Linked DNA regions of Homo sapiens: region 2 is linked to region 1. The links are contacts of gene promoters, found by promoter capture Hi-C in blood cells and fetal thymus (Javierre and others, 2016). All regions are on one chromosome and are shown on one strand. Each heading gives the region's core, a stretch centred on a gene start or on the middle of the fragment in contact. The rest is flanking DNA. Distances are from core to core; before and after follow the strand shown.

Region 1 (4,803 bases), core at 1,668-4,167:
TTAAGATACACCGACACTCGGGCTCGACATGCCCCCCTGGCTACGGAAGGCCTGTTTAAGGAGATATCAGGAAATCCAGTTTACGTGTCAGGGTGGAGCTAAATCTGTTCATGCAACAAGCACCAAGACGGCCCTAGTCTCTGCCTAGGAAATGTGCAGTGTAGACTGAGAAATACAGTCCATGTCAGCTCCCATCCTGGGAGTGCACTGAGACAGGTGGTGGGAATGGGAGGAGGAAAGGAGGGAGATGCCAGGAAGCTGGGATCAGGAGCCGTTTGCCAAAGCAAGGCCTGTGAGGTGTTGATTCGGGAACAAGTGAAAGTGTTTGTGAAGGTTTTGAGCTGGGAAAAGTTGGAATCAGATTTTGTACTTGCTGTTATCCCCAAGGGTAAACAATAAGCAAACGAAAAAATCAGGGCGAAGCTAAAGCTCTAGTTAGGGCATCTCTCTGCCTTGAAAATGACCTCAAGAAATCTAGGAACCTCTGTGGAATGCAACTTGAAGATGGAAAGGTGCCTTTGTCTGAAGGTCCCTCCCCTTTTATGCCTGCTGCCGGTGTGAGGGTTGGGGATTGGGCCCTGGGACTCAGTCACTCAGTCTTCTTGGAGAGATAAACTTTTAGCTGAAGTGATTGATTTTCCCCTATTTTAATATACTATTTTAACTAATATGAGTTACTTATGATTTTTAACAGTCTGTTTTAAATATCTTTCTTGTATATTCCTCACATTATATCTTTTTACTATCTGCTTTATACTGTGTTATTTCTGTTAGTTTTCTTATCTATTTGGTTTTTCAAGCGGAAACTGTCAATCTTTCTAATTATAAAATTGTCGTGGGTGGCTGGGTGCAGTGACTAACACCTGTAATCCCAGCACTTTTGGAGGCCGAGGTGGGCGGATCAGTTGAAGTCAGGAGTTCGAGACCAGCCTGGCCAAAATGGCCAAACCCCGTCTCTACTAAAAATACCAAAAAAAAAAAAAAAAAGAGAGAGAAAAAGAAAAGTTAGCCGGGCGTGGTGGTGCATGCCCTATAATCCCAACTACTCAGGAGGCTGAGGCATCAGAATTGCTTGAATCCAGGAGGCAGAGGTTACAGTGAGCCGAGATTGCACCACAGCATTCCAGCCTGGGCGAAACAGTGAGACTCTGCCTCAAAAAAAAAAGAAAAGAAAAAATAAAATTATCCTCTCTCTATATATTAATATATGTCTTAGTCCATTCAGGCTGCTATAACAGAATACCATTGAGTGGGTGGCTTGTAAACAACAAACATTTATTTCTCATGGTTCTGGAGGCTGGAAAGTCCAAGATTAAAGCACCAGCAGATTCAGTGTCTGGTAAGGAAGGGCTGCTTCTTGGTTCGTAGATACCTGTATTCTTACTGCATCTTCACATGGAAGAGCTCTCTGGGACCCCCAATGTAATGGCACTAATTTTATTCATGAGGGCTTGCCTTCATGACCTAATCACCTCCCAAAGGCCACATTTCCAAATACCATCACATTGGGGATTTGGTTTCAACATGGGAATTTTAGGGGAATATAAACTGTCTATAGCATATGTATATATATGTATGATGGTTAATTTTAATGTGTCAACTTGATTGGGTCACCAGGTGTTTAGTCAGACATTATTCTGGGTGTGTGTGTGTGATGGTGTTTCTGGATGAGATTAACCTTTGAGTTAGTAGACTGAGTAAAACTGGTTGCCCTCCCTCATGTGAGTGGGCCTCATCCAATCGATTGAAGGTCTGAATAGAACAAAAGCTTGAATAAGAGGGAATTCTTCCTGCCTAACTGCCTTCAAGTGGGAATATGGGTTTTTTTCCTGCCTTCCAACTCAAATGGAAACATTGGCTCTCCAGGGTCTTGAGCCTGCTGGCCTTTGGACTAGAACCACACCATTGGCTCTCCTGGATCTTCCGCTTACTAACTGCAGATCTTGGGACTTTTTGGTCTTCATAATTACATGAGTCAATTCCTTATGATAAATCTGTTTCCATATATGTATACATTCTATTGGTTCTGTTTCTCTGGACAACTCTGACTATTACACTGTGTGTGTGTGTGTGTGTGTGTGCGTGCGTGCATGTGAGAGAGAGAGAGGAGAGAGAGATTATACTGTTATGCTGGTCTGTGGGCTCAGCATCAAAGTAGGAATTTTGCAACACACCCACAGTTAACACTCACTTTTTTCCTCAACACCTAGACTCTTTCAACTTCTTAACAGAGTCAGAATTTTGGAAGAAAAGAACATTAACACTAAATTGTCATTTTATAAATTATTAAACTAAAGCTTAGAGAAATAGTCAATCATAGTCCATAAGGAATGTATTGGCTGGATAGTCCCATTTCTATGCCATACCATGGCAAGTAAAAAAAAAAAATAATAATGTTTGCTTAAGGCTTATATGGGAAGTGTGTCCTGTGCTTTGATTAGAAAAGTGCCCCCAAAATGTTTTTTAACCTTGTATGGTTCATGAGCACCTCTGAGAATCTATTGAAACCTGTGAGTTCTCTTCCCGGAAGTGATTCTATAAGGACACAGACATAATTTTGCATATAATTTTAGAAACTCATTCACTTAAAAAAAAAAAAAAGGAATCTTCTTCCTGGTCTTGCCGTGACAGTCCCCAGCCCTCTCCACATGACCAGCCATCTGAGACCCATGGTAGAGCCACAAGTCTAAAACCCCTCACAGCACAGAAAGTAACTCAGAGCACGGCATGTGACCTCTCCTGGTGACACTTGAGTAGTAAGAAGTGGCAACTCAGCCACAGCAGGTCTATATTTGGACCTTCACTCATGGCAGGCCTGTTGCTATTTGTGGCTGCAGCCAGCTCATGTTACCATCCAGCTTTGGTGCCCCACTTGCAGAACTCTGGTGTAAAATAGGCAGGGGTAGCCTGTGGGGCATGCAGAGGTCACTAGGAAGGAAAGCCTGCTGAACACAGATTCAATTTTCTAGCAGAACTCCAGGTCCTCTGAGTTAAAGGAAGCATTTATGGACGCTTAGCAGGCAAGTTTTGGGGTAGTCATATTCTTCCAATGCAAATTGTATTATTAGAAACTCAATGCTGCAATATTAATGCAATATCTTTCCTGTAGGTGGGAAGAGATATCATGGTAAATTGCAGATGTTTAAATTACAATAAATAGTGTAAATGTTTTCTGTGCCTTCTTAAAGCAAGAATTCGCATTAACTGAACATGATGTTGGGACAGGATGTGAGAGGCTCTGATGAAGGCAGACAGGGGCTGGTGATTCTTATAATGTGTCTTTAGGATATCTGTAGTGCTGGGACCCATTAGTTAGAACCATTTGGTAGAACAGTTTGGAAATATAGATGTTGAATATCATCTGGCTATACTATTGTGTTGTAAATACATTTTATTTAATCTGTGTGTACATGCTGAAAAATAATAACTTCATGCATTGATTCAAATACTAAAAAACAGCATCGTAATTATTTTTCACTTGTTATGCATACAGCCTCCTCCTATAGAAAGTTTTCAGGTTCGGGCAGTGTCTGCAAAGCTGATTTGAATCATTTCATATCACTGTAACACTTTAAGGCAAGCTTTCTTTCACTGCTGTGGCTCAGGAATTGCCAAGGGCTGCATGGAAGAGCTAAAATTATAGGCAAAGTTATGTTCCTGCCCTTATGGAATCACTTCTGGGAAGAGAATTCACAGGTTTCAGTAGATTCAGTAGATATGCCCATGATCCATAAAAGGTTAATAAACAAGCCAAGTGAGGTGGCAGATTGCATGAGCCCAGGAGTTCAAGACCAGTCTGGGCAACATAGCAAGAACCTGTCTCTAAAAAAAAAAAAAAAAAAAAATTATTGGGGGACTTTTCTAAGTAATGCACAGGGATACACCTCCCATATAAGCCTTAGACAAACATCTTTTTTATTTTTTTTAACTGCTTCCCTTGGCATAGAGGAAAGGGTATCCAGCAAAGACATTCATAATGGACTATGACTAATTGCTTTACTTCTCTAAGCTTTAGTTTCACCATTTATAAAATGACAGTTTATTGTCAACTTTCCTTTCTCCCCAAATCCTGATTTTGTTAAGAAAGAGTCTAGGTGTTGAGGGGAAAAGTGACTGTTAACTGTAGGGTGTGTTGCAAAATTCCTACTTTGACACTGAGCCAGTTTGTGTTGAGACCACTTTGTGTTGTGTGTTCGAAGGGCAAGTGCCAGCTTGAAAGCATGTGTTCTTATCTGTATTTGCACTAAGTGTTTTCCAGTCTTCTGACAGTTCAACTTGGTGTTTCACATTCCAGCTTCTGGTTGAAATAATTTCTCATGATGATTTATTGGTCATACAGAATCCTGGCTATTTCCCTTTGGGTAGCACATGGGAATGTAAGCATTATTTTAGTGAACTGCTCCTCTGTCTGTAGATGGTGTGATTTAATGGAAACCTGGGTTTGAATCCAAGCTCTTCACCTGACTGGTTGTGTGTCAGGTGAAAAGCTTGGATTCAAGCACAGGGCTAAATACAGAGTAGCCCAGATACATTTTTGTAAAAGAAAATTGGCTATAAGCAAGTCCTTTATCCTCACAAGATCTCAGTTTTGCCATCCTAAAATCAGGAATTTTTTTTAAACATCCATGACCTGCTGAATAAAATCAGGAAATTGAATTAGATGCTCTCCAAGGGACCTCCATCCCTAGAATACCATATCTCTGCCTGGGCCCCCTGGGAGAGGAATGATCTCATAGCTGATGTCTGTGCGTGGTTATGAGGCTGTTCTGCTTGGTGCCTTCTTTCATCATCGGCTGTTTTCAA
Region 2 (4,803 bases), core at 1,092-3,591, 1.5 Mb after region 1:
ATTCTTGGGGTCACAAATTACTGAGTAGCCCCATCAGGTCTGGCCCCAAATGGCCAAAGAGGATGTGGCCCATGTGGCTTCCACTGAGTTGGGAGAACTTACTAGATTCTACAGAAACATCACTGGCTGCAGAGGCTGAGGCTGCAGAGTCAGTGGAGGAGTTGAGGTCGGGCATGGCCTCTGGAGTCAGCTTCCTTGTGACAATCACAGCTTGCCTGGGCTCTCGAGCTTGGCGGAGGATGGCCAAGGCATCATGGTGCGTGGTCCCCTTGAGAGACTTGCCGTTGATGGAAAGAACCTCATTGCCCTTCTGAATAGTCCCTTCCTGGGAGGCCAGCCCATTTGGAAACACTCTGTGAACCTGAGCAAACCAAAGGAAGTCAGGACCAGAAATCACACAAGTCCAGTCCACATACTTGCTGGAGGAGGATTGAACCGGTTAGTCAATGCTAGAGGATTTTTAGGCCAACAAAGATTAAAGATAATTGTGTCCTAGATTGGAGCTGCTGGCACAGAGGCCAGCATTCCCTCCTTCTCCATCCAGAGCAGAGATCACCAGCAGTAATGACCAGGTAAGCCCTCAGAATCCATCCCAACACAACGTCCTATAGTGTACCACCACGATTCTAGTTGGGATTCCATATAAAATCTTTTGCTTCACCTGCCCTAGGTCAGAAGTCCCCAGAGTAGTTTTCTCAAGGCACTGATTCTATGGCATATTAACGGGTATTGTGTAAGAAAAAGGCTTTTCCTATTATTTTTTAAAAAATAGAGACAGGGTCTCCCAGTGTTGCCCAGGATGGTCTCAAACTCCTGGGCTCAAGCAATCCTCTCACCTTGGCCCCGCACAGTGTTGGAATTACAGGTATGAGCCACCACACCCGGCCAAGAAAAATTTTTTAAAATCAAAGAAACTTGAGGAATACTGGGTGAAACAAAAGCTCTGACATTGTCTACTTTTAAAAAGCAAAAGGCATTAGAGGGTCTACAATGCAAATTTGCATGGCAGCAGATTTCTAAGCAAAAGGCATTTAGAGGGTCTACAATGCAAATCTGCATGGCAGATTTCTAAGTATTGGCAGGGTATTATGGGGATTCCCAAAGTGTTTCAACAAAGAATTCTTTTCTCATAGAGAAATTCTCGGTCTCATTTGGCAGAATGCATTTTGAGAAACACTCTCCTAGGCAGTCTAGACATTTTTATAGCTCCTCCCCTAGAAATTCTGACTCTTTACCTCCAGTCACCTCTTGGTCCCCTTTCTGCAAGATATGTGGGATAAACAAACACACAAAAATATCTCATGTCTCTGCCTCAGCCTCTTTAATGAGGTCCATTATAATTAAGAGGACTGAGTGATAGCATGCATGGAAACCACTAAAATGTGGTACCTGTAGTTTTGCTTTTATGATAGGAGCAAAGCTCTTTGCTTCTCTAAATTGTTTTGGTGTTAGAAAAATTCTGTTACATGGTTAGAATCCCCAGGCTGTAACATCCAAGCATGAAGCAGAACCTCTCCTCTGAGCCTCAGGTTCCTCAATGCTAGAGGATTTTTAGGCCAACGAAGATTAAAGTTAATTAAAGGAGGAACCTCAGGTTCCTCCTCTATAAAAGAAGCATAAATGCCACCAATTTATCAATCCAAAGTGTGGGTAGGATGAATTTAGACAACAGGTCAGTGAGTGCTCAGCATGGCCGTGGATGGTGCTCTACGTTAGTTCCCTTTTAATCATCTGGAAAGGAAGAGAAATGCTCAAACACAGAAGGAGAAAGAAGCTTTTGTGCATGTGCTCAGCCAACATGTGCGCCTTCCTCCTAGTTTCCTGTTGTCTGCAGTGTCTCAAGGGTGACTGGCCAGATGACGTGGACAGAAGTTGCTACTCATGGACAGAGAAAAATACCCAAAGTGCCATTCCCACAGGCAAGCTCTCTTTCCTCCTCTTCAAGTAGAAAGTAAACTACACGGTCAGGAATCTTTTTGTAATACTCAGCTGCACTCAGTGAGAGAAATAGAGACTTACAGGTTTTAAGTGTTTTTTATGTGATAGAAAACTTATCAGGAAATCAAGGAAGTCACCACTGACATGATTGACTCTGAAGTGACACGCAGGAACATGCCAGATTGCCACTGCAAGGGGGTGTGGTATGTTGAATGCTGGCTGATGCTGTGAACTGGAGGATTTGTTTTCAGTTGGGCATGGAAATTCAAATGAGCCCAGCACAGCCTACACAAAGGATACCCTGAGACAACACAGCCCTGGGATGACAGCAATGCACTCGGCTTTAGAGAGCGAGCAGCCGCAGCATGGCTCCACAAAACTGGCAGAACCAGAAACCATCTGGGTCAGGTACAGGTGACCTGAAGGCAGCAGCCAATGCTGATCAGATTGGATGAGCCAGAATAGTGGGACCCACAGGAAAAGATGCCCATGGCCAGGCCTGCTACCCTCTCCACGCAGCCCCAGGCTCTGGGATGTGCTGAGTGGACAGGACCTGCCCAGTGGCCTAGTGTCATGCATTCTTCATTTCCCCAGCACAGGGCCCCTTCCTGGCAAGTGTGTCCCCCTCCCCCAGAACCATTGCCTCTGGCTGTGACATGCCCCTTCACTTGGCCACTCACCGTAATCACCTTGTTTTCTAGATCTGCTCCTCCTGCCAAGCTGAACCCAAGACCAGCACCTTCCTCCTTGTGTAAGATGGTGACATGGATGCCGTCTAATTGCTGCAGAGGAAATACATACATTCAAAAACATTTTACTGCAAGAGGATGAACAATTTAACATCGGACTGACATCAGACTGATTTGTTATCTCAAACCCCAGCTTGGCCAGCCTCCAAGTTACATCACCTCCTCAAACCTCAGTTTCCTCATCTGTAAAGAATGGACCTTCAGGAGTCATGGGAAGCTTAGAAGAAAAAAAAAATGTATGTAAAGCAGCAAGCATAATTATTTTCCTCTCTCATTCACCCTGTCCACAGCCGGGCAGGGGGAGTGCCATGAAGTCAGCCAGAAATCAGCATATTGGACAGTGTGAGATGAAGTCAGGTTGTAGGACTTCAGGTAAAACAAAACAAAAAAAAAAAACAACAAAAAACAAAACAGGGGTCAGTGCTGTTCTGCAGGAATTGGTTGCTCCTTCTTCCCTTCTACTTCTCCATGGGTCACAGCAGCAGCACTAAGGAAGCCCAGCTAACATCCTGCCCCAATGCACAGTGTGCAAGTGTGACACACACACACACACACACACACACACATTACTACGGTACTTCCTAGCCTAGACGGGGACTCCCATGGAGCCAGGACACAGTCAGAGACTCCTATTCCAGTCTAGAGCAGGGGTCTCAAACTCAGATGCCTATAGGAGTCAGGCAGGTCCCTAAAATGAGCCAAATGGGCAGATGTGTGATAGGAACTGCAGAGCGCCAACGAGTACATCTGCTCAAAGGGTCAGCTCTACGTAGGCATACAGAACTAGCGCTACCAGATCACTTCCCTAAAGTCCAGGTTTCAATTCAGGTTTTATCATGTATAGAATTCAATATTTTTTTCATCACCATGCAGACCAAATAAAGTACACCTACAGGTTCTTGGGGCACCTGTTTGTACCTTGGCACTAAGGAGTAAACTTATGTCAAAGAATTCACTTGCTCAGCGTCACTAGAGCACCTGACTTGCAGCTGTCCCTATGATCCTAAGACTTGGAGCCCCTAAGACCCAAAGGCATGGAAGGATGAATGTACCTCACTGCACCCTCACCTCCAAGCCCCAACACTAGCCCAACTCTCTCAACTTTTACCCAAGTATCAGGTTACTTGCCTTGTAGAAGGCTCTTCTCATGTTAGAAAGCAAATACTCTCCCCAGAGCAGCTCAGGCAGGATGGCTCTTTGTGTTTTACACGCTCTGCCTCTGTTATTTCATTTGCACTGAGTAAGATCCTGGGGGATGATGGTCCCAGGTGACAAGTGAAAGCCACAGCGAAAGAATCTCAGCACAGCAGCACCTTGGGCTCATCAGACTCACCTACACTCTTGATGTGGAAATTGCAGCTATGAGGCCTCCTTGTATGGAAAACGAGAACCTCCTTATCCTCTCATCCTAGCCTGGATCATTCTAGTGCCAAAAGCCTACGGAGGCCTGGGGCAGCACCTAGAGGGTGCAGGACCCATGAGCCTGAGCTCATTTGACTGCTGGCCCCAGCTCAGCCTGGCCACTTCCTCCCCACACCCCTTTGGGTCATGCTCAGAAAACATATGGGAAGTGAGACTTTCAGAATGACTTGACTGAAGCGTGGGGGACTTGTGAGCCCTGGGATCAGCCACCTCTCCATGCACAGTGGAAATAATGAAAGCTCCAGGTGAGAGCTCTTGTAACCCACATTGTTTACAATGGACAGCATCCCACAACAGACACATGCCAGGACAGCAGCACATGGAATGTGGAAACAGCACTGAACTTGAACTTGGAGACAGAAAACCCAGGTTCTGTAACCTTGATTGAGCCTTACCTTTCTCATTTATAAAATGACAAAAGAAGATGCAAGAAGTCAATCTACTGAAAGTGGTTCACAAGCTAAAAGGCTCTCTTCAAATGGAAGGTCTTACTGTGGTCAAGTGCTACAGTGTCCCACCATCACAGGACGCAACCTGGGTCTGATGTGAGCAGGCTACTCAAGCTACTTCCCCTCTGGCCCAACTAAGGTGGCCACACAGCCATAATAAGCCATTGGTTACTGCAGATGCTTACAAAGGAAACCTACCTTTAATGTTGCTTCATCCAGAACCTTCACCTCCTCGATGAGTTTTT

Evidence for each region. Contacts are between HindIII fragments. The CHiCAGO score rates a contact against its expected background, and 5 or more counts as called.
Region 2: a contact is called between a fragment that was not itself captured here and the fragment with the promoter of FSD2 in region 1, in 1 of 17 cell types (total B cells). The highest score is 7.6, in total B cells.

The regions. Positions count from the first base shown.
Region 1 is chr15:82,804,183-82,808,985 of GRCh38, reverse strand. FSD2 (fibronectin type III and SPRY domain containing 2) reads left to right here and starts at 2,917. Exons shown (of 13, transcript NM_001007122.4): 1 at 2,917-3,020. RefSeq lists an enhancer at 2,534-2,633. The HindIII fragment of the contact is 1,284 bases long and covers 2,300-3,583 here.
Region 2 is chr15:81,301,466-81,306,268 of GRCh38, reverse strand. It overlaps IL16 (interleukin 16), which reads right to left. Exons shown (of 19, transcript NM_172217.5): 15 at 4,757-4,803; 16 at 2,619-2,720; 17 at 103-361. Among named protein-coding and RNA genes, the nearest start is that of STARD5, 20 kb to the left of the region's middle. RefSeq lists enhancers at 1,918-2,448, 1,833-3,032, 4,374-4,463. The HindIII fragment of the contact is 1,130 bases long and covers 1,777-2,906 here.